Regions from separate parts of the Homo sapiens genome. Here all the other regions are linked to region 6. Evidence: promoter capture Hi-C in human tissues and cell types (Jung and others, 2019). All regions are on one chromosome and are shown on one strand. Each heading gives the region's core, a stretch centred on a gene start or on the middle of the fragment in contact. The rest is flanking DNA. Distances are from core to core; before and after follow the strand shown.

The links. The method cuts DNA at HindIII sites, captures the fragments that hold promoters and counts their contacts. A contact is called where the count stands out against the background at its distance.
Region 1: a fragment that was not itself captured here is called in contact with the fragment with the promoter of HOXB1 in region 6 in 3 of the 25 tissues and cell types used here (dorsolateral prefrontal cortex, spleen and thymus).
Region 2: a contact is called between a fragment that was not itself captured here and the fragment with the promoter of HOXB1 in region 6, in 2 of the 25 tissues and cell types used here (lymphoblastoid cells and mesenchymal stem cells).
Region 3: a contact is called between the fragment with the promoter of CBX1 here and the fragment with the promoter of HOXB1 in region 6, in 2 of the 25 tissues and cell types used here (heart left ventricle and lymphoblastoid cells).
Region 4: a contact is called between the fragment with the promoter of COPZ2 here and the fragment with the promoter of HOXB1 in region 6, in 1 of the 25 tissues and cell types used here (lymphoblastoid cells).
Region 5: a fragment that was not itself captured here is called in contact with the fragment with the promoter of HOXB1 in region 6 in 2 of the 25 tissues and cell types used here (adrenal gland and bladder).

What each region holds. Positions count from the first base shown.
Region 1 is chr17:48,218,187-48,220,886 of GRCh38, forward strand. The region is part of intron 4 of SKAP1 (src kinase associated phosphoprotein 1); the gene reads right to left. Among named protein-coding and RNA genes, the nearest start is that of MIR1203, 63 kb to the left of the region's middle. RefSeq lists an enhancer at 1,151-1,993. The HindIII fragment of the contact is 4,962 bases long and covers 1-2,700 here.
Region 2 is chr17:48,239,571-48,242,282 of GRCh38, forward strand. All of the region lies in intron 4 of SKAP1 (src kinase associated phosphoprotein 1), which reads right to left. Among named protein-coding and RNA genes, the nearest start is that of SKAP1-AS2, 53 kb to the right of the region's middle. The HindIII fragment of the contact is 4,655 bases long and covers 1-2,712 here.
Region 3 is chr17:48,100,100-48,102,799 of GRCh38, forward strand. It overlaps CBX1 (chromobox 1), which reads right to left and starts at 1,379. Exons shown (of 5, transcript NM_001127228.2): 1 at 1,169-1,379. RefSeq lists enhancers at 1,112-1,711, 1,538-1,797 and a silencer at 1,118-1,167. The HindIII fragment of the contact is 10,755 bases long and covers 1-2,700 here.
Region 4 is chr17:48,036,463-48,039,345 of GRCh38, forward strand. COPZ2 (coat protein complex I subunit zeta 2) reads right to left here and starts at 1,335. Exons shown (of 9, transcript NM_016429.4): 1 at 1,205-1,335; 2 at 389-463. The coding sequence starts at 1,315. It overlaps MIR152 (microRNA 152), which reads right to left and starts at 785; the gene lies at 699-785. RefSeq lists an enhancer at 2,452-2,501. The HindIII fragment of the contact is 11,602 bases long and covers 1-2,883 here.
Region 5 is chr17:48,137,553-48,140,252 of GRCh38, forward strand. The region is part of intron 11 of SKAP1 (src kinase associated phosphoprotein 1); the gene reads right to left. Among named protein-coding and RNA genes, the nearest start is that of MIR1203, 18 kb to the right of the region's middle. The HindIII fragment of the contact is 8,333 bases long and covers 1-2,700 here.
Region 6 is chr17:48,529,576-48,532,275 of GRCh38, forward strand. It overlaps HOXB1 (homeobox B1), which reads right to left and starts at 1,436. Exons shown (of 2, transcript NM_002144.4): 1 at 753-1,436; 2 at 1-300. The coding sequence starts at 1,329. RefSeq lists an enhancer at 1,326-1,906. The HindIII fragment of the contact is 7,824 bases long and covers 1-2,700 here.

The DNA of each region.
Region 1 (2,700 bases), core at 95-2,594, 310 kb before region 6:
TAGGATCAGAGACCTGGGGCTGAGACAGTAAGAATGTTGCAGGTCAGGAGGAAGACTAGCTGGCAGAGTTGGGTTAGGGAAGCAGCCATTTCCTCTAGGTCTCCAGCTTGGCTTCAGCTTATGTTACCAACCAACCCTTCTCATCCATAAACACTGACATTCACACTGATTTTACAACCTCTCTTTGCCTGGCAAACCCAACATCAATATTCCCAACAGCATTTCATGAAACCTCTAGTTATCAAAGTCCTCATCACTTAATCAATTCTAAGAATAATAATTTCATAAACACTATGGAAAAGGAGTCCTATTATTAGACTGTAACTGTCCTTAGCAAAATAATGGAACTTGGTTGTTCTAGTGAATTCTAAATTTAAACACTGCTTGCTCTGTCTCCACTCAACGAAGAGCTTGTGTGCTACTCTGATGAAAATGCAAAGAATTAGAAAACAATGACTGTGTGAATGACATTTACAGAGATCTCATACTGGAAAGGGCACATTTTATTGTGACTTTGTGTCAAAAGTGTAGTTTCATCAGAGCACAGGAGGCAAAAGAAACAGGCAATCAATACTTGGGCCTCTAATATCTGAACTGAGAAAGAAAATCATTATCCTGTTACTTCTATTGTAGGGTGATGCTTGAAATACTGCACCTTGTTTCCATAATAATTCAATATTTTGGGGGTTTCAGATTGTTAAAAAAAAAACCCTCATGGGGTGGCCATGTGAAATCAGAACATGAAGAGTAGAAAGGAATAAACATGCACACATTTTACAGTGGGAATAAAGAGAAAGGCAGATTAAGAAAGAGAAATAGAAAAAATATAACAACCTAATTTCCTATTAGTATTTATCTAATAGTATATGTTTAATTTTGGAATCTCTAGAATTAACCTGAAAGAGTTCTTTGCTTCCAATTTTTTGAACAAAACACACAGATTTCCAATAGAGAAGAGTCCCCTCAATATTAATGAGGTTACTTGGGCAGAATTTTTATCTCTAGATTTATTGAAAATTGTATTCCATTGTTGAGAAACTAAAACCCAGGTGGGAACCATGTGGAATGTGACATTTGATTTTAAAAGTCAGTTGTACTATTCACTTCTCATTGGCAAAAAAACTGGCCACTGAACTTGAACTTCTTGCTGACAAAAGGAGAGGAATTATCATCCACAAACCTTTTTGAAACTCTTATATGTCCAGCCTCAAATAAAGCACCAGTTCTGCCTATTTCTAATATGACTGTTTATTGGTTAGTATTTTCAAAACACTTCAAGGCAATTAAACCCTTCCCCCTCTAGATTTCAGCATCCAGTTTAAAAGTCTCTCTGAATACATATTATGGAGAATAGGGTCATGTCAGTTAATGTTAGTTGCAAAAACAAGTACAGCTGTCCTCAACCTGACTTTCATACTTTTGTGTGTTGGTACCATAACCCAGTTATTTAAATTCTGGGTTTTTTCCTCTTAGAATTATTATTGATGAAATTAGCATTATATAGTCATAAAGTCATTACCTGCTTTTCTAGGCTGTCTGCTGCACCCCCATGGAGAGCTAAGTGGGCCCTTAATGAACAAGAAAAGGTTATCTGGCTGCACACGGTGTCTCCCAGTCTGCTCTGGCTAGAAGCTACAGCAGCCACAGATAACAGTTCAAAGTCATGCAAATGAGGGCTAGGCTACCACTTTGTTCCTCACAGAGGAGATGTTCCTGTGATCCACTGGCAAATGTACAATGGAAGCAGGAAAAAAGGATATTTTCAGAGACCTAATCCCTCCAGGCAGCTGGTTTATTTCAATTGAAGAAACTACTACAGCCACCCACCAGAATTGCTAAAATTAAGAAACACTGACAATACCAAGTATCAGTGAGAATGAGGAGCAACTGGAATTTTCACACATTGTTGGTGGGAGTAAAAATGGTACAAGTCTGTTGGAAAAATGTTTGGTAGAATCTCCTAAAGCGGAATACGCACATACCCTCTAATTCAGCAATTCCTCTCCTAGCTATATACCAAACAGAAATGCCAACATAGTGGTGCTCCAAAAGTCTGATATAAGATTGTTCACAACAGCATTATTTACAATATTTCCAAAGCAGAAAAAAACCATACGTTTACCTACCATAGAATGAAATAAAATGAATAAAGGAAATACTATATAGTAATGAGAACAAAGGAACTACATGTGTTTTGCTACATGCAAAAACACGGACAATCCTCACAAATATAATGCTAAATGAAAGAGTCCAGACACACAAAAGTATATATAGTATGAATCTGTTCATATGAAGTTCAAGTATAGGCAAAATTAATCTGGTGATAGAAGTCAGAATAGTAGTTATTTTGGTGGAGATAACTGGGACGGGGCATAAAGAGAAGTTTCAGGCCAGGTGCAGTGGCTCACGCCTGTAATCCCAGCACTTTGGGAGGCTGAGGTGGAAGGATCACTTGAGGTCAGGAGTTTGAGACCAGCATGGCCAACATGGTGGAACCCTGTTTCTACTGAAAATACAAAAGCCGGGCGTGGTTGCACATGCCTGTAATCCCAGCTACTTGGGAGGCTGAGGCACAAGAATCGCTTGAACCCAGGAGGTGGAGGTTGCAATAAGCCCAGATTGCGCCACTGCACTCCAGCCTGGGTGACAGAGCGAGACTCCATCTCAAAAAAAAAAAAAAAAAAAAAAAAAGAAAAGAAA
Region 2 (2,712 bases), core at 184-2,683, 290 kb before region 6:
AGAGTGAAATAGAAAAAGCTTTCTTTTGCAGTTACTATATTATAATGCAGAATTATTCTTCCATTGAAAGAAAACTGAGACCATTGGTCCATACAAATAATCCCTGGCTCTGTAAAGAAAATGAGAGAAAAACAGGCAACCATGAATCCTACTCACTGGTGACATTAACACATATGACATTACACATACTCACACGTATCTCACCAAGGAAAAGCAGGCTTCTCAGACCCCCTCCACCCCCACCAACAGTAATTAGAATGAGAGAGAGAGAGAGAGAGACAGAGAGAGAGAGAGAGAGAGAGAGAGAATGAACTTGAATCATGGCCTCTAAGAAAATTAATACAAAGAAAAATAAGCTGTTGAGAACCTCTATCATCAGTAACATAACTCTATAGGTACAAAAGAAGGTAGATGTTAAAGACCAAAGGTGGATCAGCTGAAATGTTCATGGATTCAGTTAGTAAAATGTTTGTGCAGTATTTAAGGCCATAATGGGCTCTGATAAAGATTCTCAGAATCTAATAATGGCCTCTCTGGACTTCTTGTCTAATTAGTGGAATAAGGAGCGAGCCAGCTTGGAATTGAGCATTGCTAGATATGAGGGAGAAGGGAAAAAAAAAAGCCAAAGCTGCAAGAAAAATAAACCAGAGTAAAGGAGAAGAAAAACAAGAGCAGCCAGTGCTTTCAGAACTGCTCCTGAGCTGACAACTGAAGTTTATGCCTTGAAATATATGATAATAAGATTTTATGGGAGTGAGCCCCAGGGACCCAAATGTCTCTCTGTAAACAACGGACCTCAGGGAAAAGCCAAGGTTTGAGTAATGTACTCAGTCTCCACTCATGATAAAAAAATAAAAAAAAGCAAAAAAGCAGTGAAGACAGGAAATAACTCCTTTTATTCTAACTGTAGAACCCTGAGTTGCAGCAAATGCCCTCTGAGGGCAAAGACAATCGACAACCAGTATAGAAATACAGTTGTCCCATATTCAGACAAGGGATTTAAACCTCAGCAGCCTCAAAAACCTGAGGTTGTATGAGAAGAACCTAGTAAAGTGCTGCCTGTCCACCCTTCACACATGGGCAATATATGTCCAGAAACCAAATGGTTTATTGTGCAGTGTTGTTCCAGTGGAATTACTGGAGGGACATCAGAATGACCTAATCCTTGAAGCATGTGCCAGTTATCCCAGTGCTGCAAAGAGTTAAACCTGAAAGTGCTGCCTGTTCCCACTCGTTCACAATCCAGATTACCTAGAAAGATATTACCAGCTGAACTCCACACATAGTATGATGGCTTCCTTTGAAGACTTGGGTCAGGTAAAGCTCAAAGTTAGCCTTAAGCAACTACTAAACGATGAAAGTCCCTAGTGTACTCTGAGACTAAATCAGGTTGCCTTTAAAATTCTTCATCTTCAAAGACAACAGCTCTATCCTCTTTTTATAAATGTGAGGCCATGAGACAGCAAAGTGCTATTTCTACTGGCATTAGTTCCACCTTATATATTAAAAAGATATTTGTTGTGCCCTAATCACTCTGGGTCCAAGATCATAAGGGACCTTGTTTCTTGGTGGGAGGCTATAGTGTGAAAAGGTTACTTAGTCATCACTAGCCTCTAGCAATGCTGGAACACCACACATGGGGCTCCTCAAACAGGAAGTCAAAGCCAGTTCTGACCCCTGGATGAACTCTGCATTTTCGGGCAAGAGGCCTGATGAATCTCCAGGGACAGTGCTGCCCTGTGTCTCTGTGTCCATATGTATGTGTTTACTCCTCTGTGTGCATGTGTGGAGGTGGGTGGTACTGAAGGGAAGCAGGGTGTGAAGGTTCTGGATAATTATGAAAATTAGATCTTTTACAGCAGGCTTCAAGCTCAATTTGGGCTGACAGCTCATGAACAGATCATCTGAAGTCTTAATAGGCCAATGCTAGTTCAATAGTTGTATGGTTAAATCATGCACATTTGTGCCTCAGCTGACACAAAAAGCAGACCCAGATGCCTCACATGGATCATGCAGATAAGTCTATATTTAATACTCTTCCTCTCTCGGGGAAGGCCTAACAAAGCAAAACAAAACAGATCTAAAACCATGCTTAAAACTTTCACCAGCCAAAGAAACATTCCAACATTCTTTTCACTATAAAACATCTAATAGTAGAAATGATACATGATTGATAAAGTGATTCTAAATATACTTAATTCTGGTGTCTTTTCAAAATATTTCTGAACCCAGCAGTAACAGATATAATCTTCCAAACTGGGAGTTTTTTCCATTTTTAGTTACCTGTCCCAAAAGCACTTATTCTCTTACTTTCCATTCTTTGCTGGTAGTTTTGTACAATGATGTCAAGATATCAAGGCTCCTGACACATCCTGAATTCTGAAAGAATGTGCTTCCTGAATATTCCTGATAATGGGCTTAGTATCAAAGGGGTTAATGAGGTTGAGTTAAGACAGCATTTCCTGCTTGAAGGAGAACTGAGTCCAACAACACTAGAAGCATTTTCTTATTATTTTTCTCTGCGTTTGCAGTAACTGCTTCTCCTGGAAGCTTTACCTGGGGGAAGGGATAAAGCAATATCACTAACCTGCCTGGCATCTGGCTTCCAGCAGGGAAAGAGGCTCATCCACCTCACCCCTCGGGCTTCTTTAACTGAATTAGCTGTATTAAGTGCCTTGGTAGCCCAGGGAATGAACGTCGTTGATCAGTGTG
Region 3 (2,700 bases), core at 129-2,628, 430 kb before region 6:
CTGCACTCCAGCCTGGGCAACAGAGGAAGACTCTTCTCAAAAAAAAAAAAAAAAAGAGGTAAAATATAGCTCACTCTATTCAAATTTTCCAACAAGGAAAAGCTGGCTAAAAACAGAAGGGCCCACGAAACAAATATTACCTCACAATCTCACATAATTTTCCTATGTCTCCCAATTTCTCGCACCTCACACGATCTCACAATCTCTCACTACCTCACGCCGTTCCTCAACTATTAACTCATCTACATATTTTTACAATTTCATCACCTTTGTGAGACCAGTTACGATCCCACACAAAAACGTACGGAACTAATTTTGAATCAAAGCAAGAACTGCACTTGGACTTTTTTAACTCCCCAAAGGAATCATGGAGTGAAGGTAGTAGGAAACCTGGAAAACTGAAAAAAGCGTATTCCATCCTTTCTTCGCACATTATTCTTACAGCCTCCCCACTGTAAGGACCCATCAGGATGCAAGGGCGGCCTGCTTTCCCCTTTTTTCTTACATACCTTATAGAAATATTCTCGGGATCTCCGCCCTACTTATCCTAACAGCTCCTCCCCTTCCAGAGTCAGGCCCAGCAAACGCCTGCCCCTCCCCCTCCGTGTCCCCTTTCCCAATTTATTCCACACATCTCCTCCTCCAATCAGCACACCTTGTGCGGCCCTGGGCCCTCTTCCAATTCACTCGACGTTACTCCTCCGTAGTCCTGCAAAGCCAGGTTCCTCTGGCAGTCCCAGCCGGACCCGGCGTCTTCCGAATACAGTTACAAACCTCGGGTTGTGCGGTCGTATGCGCCTCCTCACGCCTATCCAAGCCTCAAGCCTGTCCCCTTCCGCCCTATCCCGCAGCCGCCCAGCCAAGCAACATTGTTCCAGACCACCCGGGCCCCGAAGAGCGGCCCCCAAGTGCTCGGCCCACCCCCAAGCACTCAGTCTCTGGCTCAGGATTCGCGCCCCGCCCTCTCCATCCTTCACGCAGCTGGCACCGACGCCTCAGCGACAGGCGAAGAGCTCAGCGCGGGAAGCGGAGAAGCAGGACGCTGGACCCGGGCGCGCTCCCCGCTCCTAACCTCCGCCTCGAAAGCGCGTTCCCTCACGCAGGGCTCCCGCCGCCGCCGCCGCCGCGCCCCCTCCCCCAGCTCTCCCGCCTCCAGCGGGCTCCTCACCTCAGAGCAGCGCCCAAGAGCCCGAGAGGAATCGGTGCTGCGCTGCTGGCGCGTCGCGTCGGGTCGCCTGGGGGAGTGGCGCCCAGGAAGGCAGCAAGCCGGGTGGCCGCAGTGGCGTCCCTCACTGAAGCGGCGTACCGCAGGCCCCGGCCAACGGCCCTCCCCTCAGCCGAACAAAAGAGCCTCGCAGTCTGCGCTGCCCGCCGCTCGCACCGCGCAGGCGCAACGACCCGCCGCACGGCACCATGGGCCTCGGGGGTCTGTCCAAGACTACAAGGCCCGAAGCGCCGCGCGCCGCGCACGCACAGTAGGCGAGGGTGGTAGGGACTTATAGTTTTTAAACTGTAACGGTGGAGAGATTGCAGCGTAGAGCGTTGTAACCTAGAATATTAGAACATATGGGCCAGGGGCAGTCGCTCACGCCTGTCATCCCAGCACTTTGGGAGGCCGAGGCGGGTGGATCACCTGAGGTCAGGGGTTCGAGACCAGTCTTACCAACAAGGTGAAACCCTGTCTCTACTAAAAATGCAAAAATTAGCCGAGCGTGGTGGCAGGTGCCTGTAGTCCCAGCTACTCAGGAGGCTGAGACAAGAATTGCTTGAACTTGGGAGGCGGAGCTTGCAGTGAGCCGAGATCCAGCCACTGCGATCCAGCCTGGGCGATGGAGCGAGACTCCATCTCAAAAAAAAAAAAAAAAAAAAATTAGAACATATGATTTTTATAAGCGAGCCCCCTGATGCTTGGCCCCCAAAAAATCAACCACTTCTGGACAGTTCTGTAATTCACATCCTCAAAATTTTTGAATCTTAGATTCTTCACCAGAACTTTATCATATCGCCGCTGCCTCAAATTTCCAATGATTTCTTAGTCCTCAATCTCTGCCTCCTCAAATCTCTGTAAAATTCCTACTCACGCCGGCACGGTGGCTCAAGCCTATAATCCCAACACTTGGGGAGGCGGAGGTGGGTGGATCACTTGAGGTCAGGGTTTCAAGACCAGCCTGGCCAACATGGTGAAACCCCATCTCTACTAAAATACAAAAATTAGCTGGGCGTCGTGGCGGGCGCCTGTAGTGCCAGCTACTCGGGAGGCTGAGGGAGGAGAATCGCTTGAACCCAGGAGGTGGAGGTTACAGTGAGCCGAGATCGCGCCATTGCACTCCAGCCTGGGCAACAAGAGCGAAACTTCGTCTAAAAAAAAAAATACTGTTCAGTGTTAAGATTACTTCCCCTTTGAGGTCTTCCCTGATTCCCTAGAGTAGGTTAGGTCCCCCCATAGGCCTCTCATAGCTTCCTGAATTTCCCCCTTTTCACTGGCTGCGCCACAAAAATGTCCTCTTTTTCATTGTAAGTTGTGCTCACCTTTTTCAGTGTCATTAATCTCCGTCAGCACCTTTCACCCAATCATCCCAAGGAAACACACAATTAGGAAAAAAACATGTTTTTAAGCCACAATATAACTAAAGTTTTATTTTTTTATTTTAAAGTATCCTTCTAATCAGGAGGAAGAGGGAAACTCTATTGCACTCTACC
Region 4 (2,883 bases), core at 85-2,584, 490 kb before region 6:
GTTAGTGTTTACCAAGCTGTAGAACAAAAGTGGAGGTTTAGAGACAAACCCCAAAGAACAAAAGAACTTGTGTGGGGGTTTGGGGACTAAGACTCCTGGGTCCCAGGCTCAACACTCCACTGACCCATTAGGCAGAACCTTCCCATGCCCAGGTCCAACTGGCCAGTAGCAGGATGATAAGGAAACATTTCAGGGAACATGAGTAGAAATAGAGGAGACCCCTCATTTCAGGGAGCAGCACCTTGACAAGGCAGGAGGATGAGAAGGACCTCTGGAGGGGTCTAAGCTGAGCTGCCCTGAGTCACAGAGATCACAGTGGAGTTTCTCCTGAGACAGGAGTGTCAGCTGAGTGGGAACTGTGTCCCTCATGGGTGGGGTCAGAGGTTACCTTGGCCAGCAGCCGGCGCCCGTCATTATCTAGGATGAAAACAGCCTTGATGGTGTAGAGGGAAGGTTCCTGCAACTGACACCGGAGAGGAGAGTTCCGTTTGGCCCCTGACTCGAGGTGGACACCCTGTGTCTATGGGATCTGCTGGCCCTAGGATACATCCTCAGGCCCCAGCAACCCCAGTCCTCAAGGTCCACAGCTGGTTCTGCCCAGCCCTGTGCCACATGGGCCAACCCAGGTGCCCACTCCACTCCCAGGCAGATGTTCCACTGCAGGCCCCGAGTGGGCGCTGTGCCCGTTGGGTGCAGAAGGTCCTTCCGGGCCCAAGTTCTGTCATGCACTGACTGCTCCAGAGCCCGAGTCGGAGTGTATCACAGAACCTGGGCCGGGGGGGACAGCGGGCCGAGCCTCCTTCTTCCAGCTGATCCCTGGCCGGGCTGGACCTGCGCTATCAGCGCGCCCCCAGGCCCTGGCCCGGGTAGACTCCAGAAGCATGCCCATCACCCACCGGTGATGGGAGCCGAGTCTGGGACGGACAGGCCACTCCTTACCCTCCCCGCGGAATCGCAACTCACCCGCCACCCCCACTCCAAACGGACCCAGAACTTCAGCCCCGCGCCGACGGACTCAGGACAGGCCTCCTCTCCGGTCGGCGCTGGGACGAACTTTTCCTCCCGGGTCCTGGGGCCAGTCAGGGGTGACACAAAGTTCCCAGCCGCCGGGCGCGCGAGTTCTGAGTTGGCTGCTCCCCCTAACCCTGCTCTGTCCCTGCCCAGCTCCCGCCGCCCGGGATCCCCGCGCCCGCCCGCTCCGTACCCGCAGCCCCGAGGGCTCCCCGGCTCGAGCAGGCGGCGCCGGGCCCCCGGCCTGGGCCGCCGCGGCCCCCTCCCCCGGGTGCGGACGTGGCCAGGCCTCGGGCCGCTGCATTCCGCTCGCCGCCTCGCACTGACAGCGCCGCCCGCCGCCTGCCCGCCGCCGCCGCCCCGCCTCCGCGCCGCCCCGCGGCCCCCTCTCGCGCGTGGCCTCCCTTTCCTCGGGGCCCCGTCCTCTTGCTCGTTCTCCCCCATCTCCCCTCCCGCCCTCACCCCACCTCTCCTTCCCCCACTTCTCCTCTCCCTCTCTCCTCCTTGGCTCCTTCCCGAGTCCCTTACATCCCCGAACTCTGCATCCTCAGGGTGCCCCAAGACCAGCCCTCGTCCTGCTTCCTGCCTGCTCTCCGGCCTGTGGCTTTGGTGTGCGCCAGTGTCTATAGGCTGTCCTGGGGCCAGCAGCAAACACAAGCAAAGCCCACTTTTGTCTGTTGACCTCTGGTAGGTACCATGAGGACAAATACGTCAGGTCACCCTTTAGATCTCAGGGACAGGGTCTATAAGCAAGAGCAAATGAGGACAGTTCTGGGGACACCCCTCTGTGAAGAGGCTTTCTCATTCCTCTCTCACTACTTGCAGAAGGCAACCATGGGCCCGGAGACACCTCCCCAGGCTCTCCTAAGTCACAGATATGGCACCATCAGAAGCAAGACAGACGCCCAGCAGCACAAATGCTCCACCAATGACATCGGGCTTTGCAGCATGTTTTGGTTTCTTTGGTCTAAGTCTAACTAAGACAAGCTCTCATTTCAGGGTACACTGGCAAGTGGGAAATTCACATCCCAGTGATATGTTAGTGCTACGTATGCATTTACCGGTAAAAACACTGTGCGTGTATTTTACATTTGACACCTTCACATCCATTATCTAATATAGCCCACACCTGTAAGATAGGCATAATGGACCCTCATTTTAAGCAAAGAGAGACTCAGAGGTTGTGTGACCTTTTCAAGACTATACAGCTAGTTGACTGGGGATAGAACCCAGATTTTTGACTCAAAATTTCTTCCCTATTCTTCTCTTCAAGCCCTCTTATGTTGTGGACCACAGTCACTTACCCTAGATGGTTACAGAATGGGGTTTTCCTCACTGAATGCATCAAGTCTTCTTATCTTCAAGCCTCTGCTGAAATATAATTACCAAAAGGTCCTCCTGACAGCCACCATATCTGACTTGATAGGTCTCTCCTGTCACATTCTCTCAGTTCCTATTTCTTTCTTTCATTGCACTTTTTTCAATCTCTAAATATTATTTTTACTAATATTGCTTGTTTGAGACACGGTCTCACTCTGTTGCCCAGGCTGGAGTGCAGTGACTCGATCTGGGCTCACTGCAGCCTCAACCTCCTGGGCTCAGGCAATCCTCCCATCTCAGTCTCCCGAGTAGCTGGGACCACTGGTGCATGCAACCACTCCCAGGTAATTTTTTATTTTTTTATTTTTTTTATTTTTGTAGAAACAAGGTCTCAAGTCTGGGCTCAATGGCTCACATCTGTAATCCCAGCACTTTGGGAGGCTGAGGTGGGCAGAAGGCTTGAGCCCAGGAGTTCCAGACCAGCCTGGGCAACATGGTAAGATCTAGTCTCTACTAAAACTACAAAGAAATTAGCCAGGTAGGGTGGTGTGA
Region 5 (2,700 bases), core at 167-2,666, 390 kb before region 6:
AAATTAGCACATTTGATGCCCTTGCTGAACCTGAAGAGCATTTTTTTTTAAACCAAGCCGAATGGTATGGCTTCTTAGAGAAAGTTGGGCACACATTAAATTGCCAGAACACTACAGATATTCAAGGGGTCAAGTCATAGTTCAAATCAATAATATTTATCAAGCATCTTCTATGTGCAAAGTGCTGTTTGAGTTCCCATGAGGTATGTAATGATGAATCAGAAGATTGCTTGCTCCTTGGGAGCTTACAGCAGAGTAATGGGCTTTGGAGTCAGACAGACTGAGATCTAATCCTCGCTTGGTCATTTAGTAGTCACATGACCTTAGGTTCTCCTAGCTTTAGCTTCTTTGTGAGAGTAGGGATAATATCTCCCTTCTATCTTGTGGGGATGTAAATTGTATCACTGAAGTAAAAACAACTGAAAGTGTTTGATACATAGTAGATGCTCTAAACATTAGATTCTTTCCCTAGAACAGGTGAGAGGTGACAGGTACATTAATAATGACAGGCTAGTCACAGAGAGGAACAAACAAGAAAGAGGATGAGAGGGTTTTAAAGAGAGTTTAAGGGGTAGTCACAGAGTGAGGATGCAGCTCCTTGAATACAGAAAAGCTTCTCAAAAGCACAGCAGATGTTGAAGAGTATGGGGCTATTTCTTTTTTTTTTTTTGAGACGGAGTCTCGCACTGTCGCCCAGGCTGGAGTGCAGTGGCAAGATCTCAGCTCACTGCAACCTCCGGCTCCCACGTTCAAGCAATTCTCCTGTCTCAACCTCCTGAGTAGCTGGGATTACAGGTGCGTGCCATCACACCCGGCTATTTTTTTTTTTTTTTTTTAGACAGAGTCTGGCTCTGTCTCCCAGGCTGGAGTGCAGTGGCGCAATCTCGGCTCACTGCAACCTCCACCTCCCAGGTTCAAGCGATTCTCCTGCCTCAGCCTCCCGATTAGCTGGGATTACAGGCGCGCACCACCACGCCCGGCTAATTTTTCTATTTTTAGTAGAGATGGGGTTTCACCATGTTGGCCTTGATGGTCTTGAACTTCTGACCCCAGATGATCCACCCGCCTCAGCCTCCCAAAGTGCTGGGATTACAAGCGTGAGCCACTGCGCCTGGCCACAACTGGCTAATTTTTTATATTGTTGGTAGAGATGGGGTTTCATCATGTTGGCCAGGCTGGTCTCAAACTCCTGACCTCAAGTGATCCACCAGCCTCGGCCTTGCTAAGTGCTGGGATTACAGGCGTGAGCCACTGTGCCCACTCTGAGTATGGGGCTATTTCTGATAGCACCAGAAAATGTTTTCTTTCTTTTGAAAGAAGTAAAATTAGAATGAAAAAAAAATTTTTTTTTTTTGAGACAGAGTCTCACTCTGTTGCCCAGGCTGGAATGCAGTGGCACAATCTTGGGTCACTGCAACCTCCACCACCTGGGTTCAAATGATTTTCCTGCCTCAGCCTCCTGAGTAGCTGGGACTACAGGCTTGCGCCCAGCTAATTTTTGTATTTTTAGTAAAGACGGTGTTTCACCCTGTTGGCCAGGGTGGTCTCGAATTCCCGACTTCGTGATCTGCTCACCTCGGCCTCTCAGAGTGCTGGGATTACAGGTGTGAGCCACTGTGCCTGGCCAAAATAAATTTTTTTTTTTTTGAGATGGAGTCTCGCTCTTTTGCCCGGTCTGGAGTGCAGTGGTGAGATCTCAGCTCACTGCAACTTCTGCCTCCTGGGTTCAAGCGATTCTTCTGCTTCAGCCTCCTGAGTAGCTGGGACTACAGGTGTGCACCACCACGCCCAGCTAATTTTTTGTATTTTTAGTAGAGACGGGGTTTCACCATGTTGGCCAGGCTGGTCTTGAGCTCCTGACCTCGTCATCCACCCGCCGCAGCCTCCCAAAGTACTGGGATTACAGGTATGAGCCACCGTGCCTGGCCCCGAATGAAATTTTAAGTATGGGAAATATCACATATTCCAGTTCAATTGGATTTGGGGTACCAAAGAGCTAACTGCTTCTTTGTACACTTGGTTGCTGAGTACTATTAGGAAAAACAAAACAAAAGAAGTAAAACCAGATTGGTGATATGTAAAATTCAGAGTCCCTAGCATTATCTGGTGATCTTTTTATCTCTGGATGCATATAATTATCATAGAATTATGATATCTAATATCTCCCCTCCTCAAACTCATGTTGCTTCTGACAACCTCTTCTCCACCTTCAAAGGGAAAAGAGAAGCCATCAGATTTGTCAGCCACCAGCCACCAAAGCAGGAACTTACCTGTATTGACAACCATCTTTCTTTCCCATTAAAGTCGGGGAAGCACCCCTCCCCTGGTTTAAGACTACCCCTCACAACACGCACTTGCAACCCTCCTCCTTCCTTTCCGAGAGATGAGGTTCTGTGGAGACTGACCATTGCCTGTAAAGTAAATGGCTCCTTCCACCAGCACTGAAAGGTGTTCAAGTTTCTCTCATTTTTTAAAACAACCATTAAATAGCTGCCACTGATGTCTACTTCCCATTTCTTCTAGTCTATGCCACACTTGTTGGGAAAGTTTACTCACTCACTGCTCCAACTTCCTTCCTGTTCACTGTTGAAGCCGCTCTCATCAGGCTTGGTTGCCGTCCTCTACTTAGGCTCTCTCTCCATGGTCTCCTGTAACCTCTGCATTGCTCAAATTCCCTGAGCACTTCTCAGTCCTTAACTT
Region 6 (2,700 bases), core at 186-2,685:
CCGGGGAGGTGCATGTCGACTGGTCTGAGGCATCTCCAGCTGCCTCCTTGGGGCAGCCTGGTGGGGCTGGGGGGACCCGACCTTCCTCTCGCTCGCGCTTCTTCTGCTTCATTCGTCGGTTCTGGAACCAAATCTTGACCTGTGTTTCATTGAGCTCCAGGGTGGCGGCAATCTCCACCCTCCGGGCCCGGCTCAGGTACTTGTTGAAATGGAACTCCTTTTCCAGTTCTGTCAGCTGCCTTGTGGTGAAGTTGGTGCGGAGGCCACTGGGCGAGCCCAGGCCTGGCTCTGACACCTTCGCTAGGGGCGGGGCAGGGAGAAAGGCCAGGTCAATTCTCTCACCTCTTTCTCCTTCCGCTTCCCTCCTCCCGGGGCTGGCTCTGGACCTCCATTTGCCATTCTGCCCAAGTACAGTTGTCAAAGTTCCCAGGGACCACCAGGTACCCCCATGGTGATCACCAAGTCTGGAGCAGCCTTCCCCATACTTCCATCCCCCATGCACACCAGGTCCTGGGTCTGTGCTGGGTGCACAGATCAGGAAGTGGGGTGTGTATGGAAACTTACTCCTGGGGTGACCGGTTACATACTGGGTGGGGAGACCTCACCTGACCTGAGACGTAGGTTGTGCTCTTACCTGTGTCTACCAGAGCCGCTGAAAGAGAAGAACCCAGCCCAGACCCAGGACATGTCACTGCAGGGGAAGCAGAGATGCTTTGGGCCCCGGAGAAGGGGTGGCCACATCTGAGCCCTACCTGTCTTGGGTGGGTTTCTCTTAACCTTCATCCAGTCGAAGGTCCGGGCCGTGGGGGTGTTAGGTTCTGAAGGGCAGGGTGTTTCCTTGTCCTCGGAGAGGAGATCAGCATAGGCCGGTGCAAAGCTCGCGGTCTGCTCGTTCCCATAAGGGGGATGCTGCGGAGGATATGGCCCCGGACCGGCTCCACCTGCTCCGTAGCCATCGGACAAGCCCCCTAGCTGGGCCCCGTAGCTCGAGGGATGAAAATAGCCTCCGTCTCCTTCTGATTGACCCAGAGGGTAGTACTGAGAAGGCCCGTAGCTGGGGCTGCAGGCGGCAGGAGCATACCCCGAGGGCGCGGAGCTGGGGAAGGGCACCCCCAGGGTCGAAGGCGGCTGCTGGGCGGGATAGCCGGAGTTCTGCTGAAACGCAGGGCTGGACAGCCCCCCACCGTAGCGGCCCTCGCTTGCATAGCTGTCAACCGCCTGAGCCGAGCTTGGGGGAAAGGAGGTTGGGGCGCTGTGGGCGCTGTAGGCGCTGGGTCCCCGGTTACAGAGTGGGTACTCTAAGAAGGAGTTCATCCTATTATAGTCCATGCGTCAAGGCCGCAGGAGGGTCGGCCCGTTTGGGGGAGACACCCTCTTGCCCTACAACCTTTCGGCAGTATGTCACAGCGCTGGGGCTCGAATCCATGGCCTGACCCGCTCGCCTGGGCAAGCGCTTCCCTAGGAAGGGGGTAGGGAGTGGGGGTGAGGGGGCACATGTGATCTCTCCCAGGCCAATGGGCTAAGCGGGCCAGAGTTTGGCAGCCCCAGCGCCCATCCATCACCCCCCAAGCATTAGCATGACAAAGACACTTCAATCACCCGCAGCCCATCCATCTGAGAGCGACATGGAAGCGTCAAAAACATCTTTCTTCAAAGACTTTTGGAAAGAAGGGACCAGAGGGAGAGGGGGAAAAAGTTAGGAGAATATTCAAGACTTTCCTTCCCTCCCAACCCCCAAGGCCTTCAATAGGCTCCTGGGTTATTAGATTTGGACAAATTCAAGCCAGCTGCCCCTCACTCTTCCCACCCCTCAGAGAAACCTTCCCCCTAAGTCTGTGGACCTGGAGGTGGGGAATCCAGCTTCCATACTTTGCCCAGAACTCCCAAACCATGTTCCTTTCTTCCAATTTGTCTTAGGGTGGTGGGCTAGGACAGCCGGGTGAGGTATGTTATCTTGGGCCAAATGGATGACTGTGTGGTGGGGAGGTGGGGGAAGGTGGTGCAAAAACACCTAAGGGTGTGGGGCAGGATCTAGAATCTAGAGGAAGAATTCATGAAGCCAGGGGTGGGAAATTGGCATTTCAGGGAGCAAGGCAGGACTACAGAAATGTGGAGAAAAGGATGAGAAATGCCCCATCTTCCCTCTCTCTCTCTTTGCATAAATGTTCTCTCCTCATTCACACATCCATTTCTCTCCCTCAGCCTCTCTTTATATTCTCTCTGTCTCAATCCATCTCTCTGTTCGTCCATCTTTCTCCATATTTATATTCGTTCCCTACCTCTCATCTCTCTAGATGTATTTATCCTCTCTCTAGCCATCCATAGCTGTAGCTGGCTCACTCACTCAGACTTAAATAACTCCCTATATCTCTCTAGAGAGCCACAATGAGCACAGCCAGGTGATGTTTACAGCGGGGTGAAGAGGAGGGGAATTTTTTATTCTCTTCTTGAAGTGTTTAAAACTAGTGGAGACCTGCATTCTCCTGGTTCCCTCCTACCTGTCTCTCCTTCACCACCCTCCATCTCCTTCCAAAAAAAAAAAATTTCCAAACCTCAAATGCATAAATTTAATACCAGTTAAATCTTAAAGATTCCTCCAGATTTCAGTAATTTTTCTAGGATTGATAAAGGGAGTTTGGTCAGAGAGTGGGAGAATCGGGGTGGAGGCCCTGAGGCTCTGAATTCTAAGACTCCAGAGTG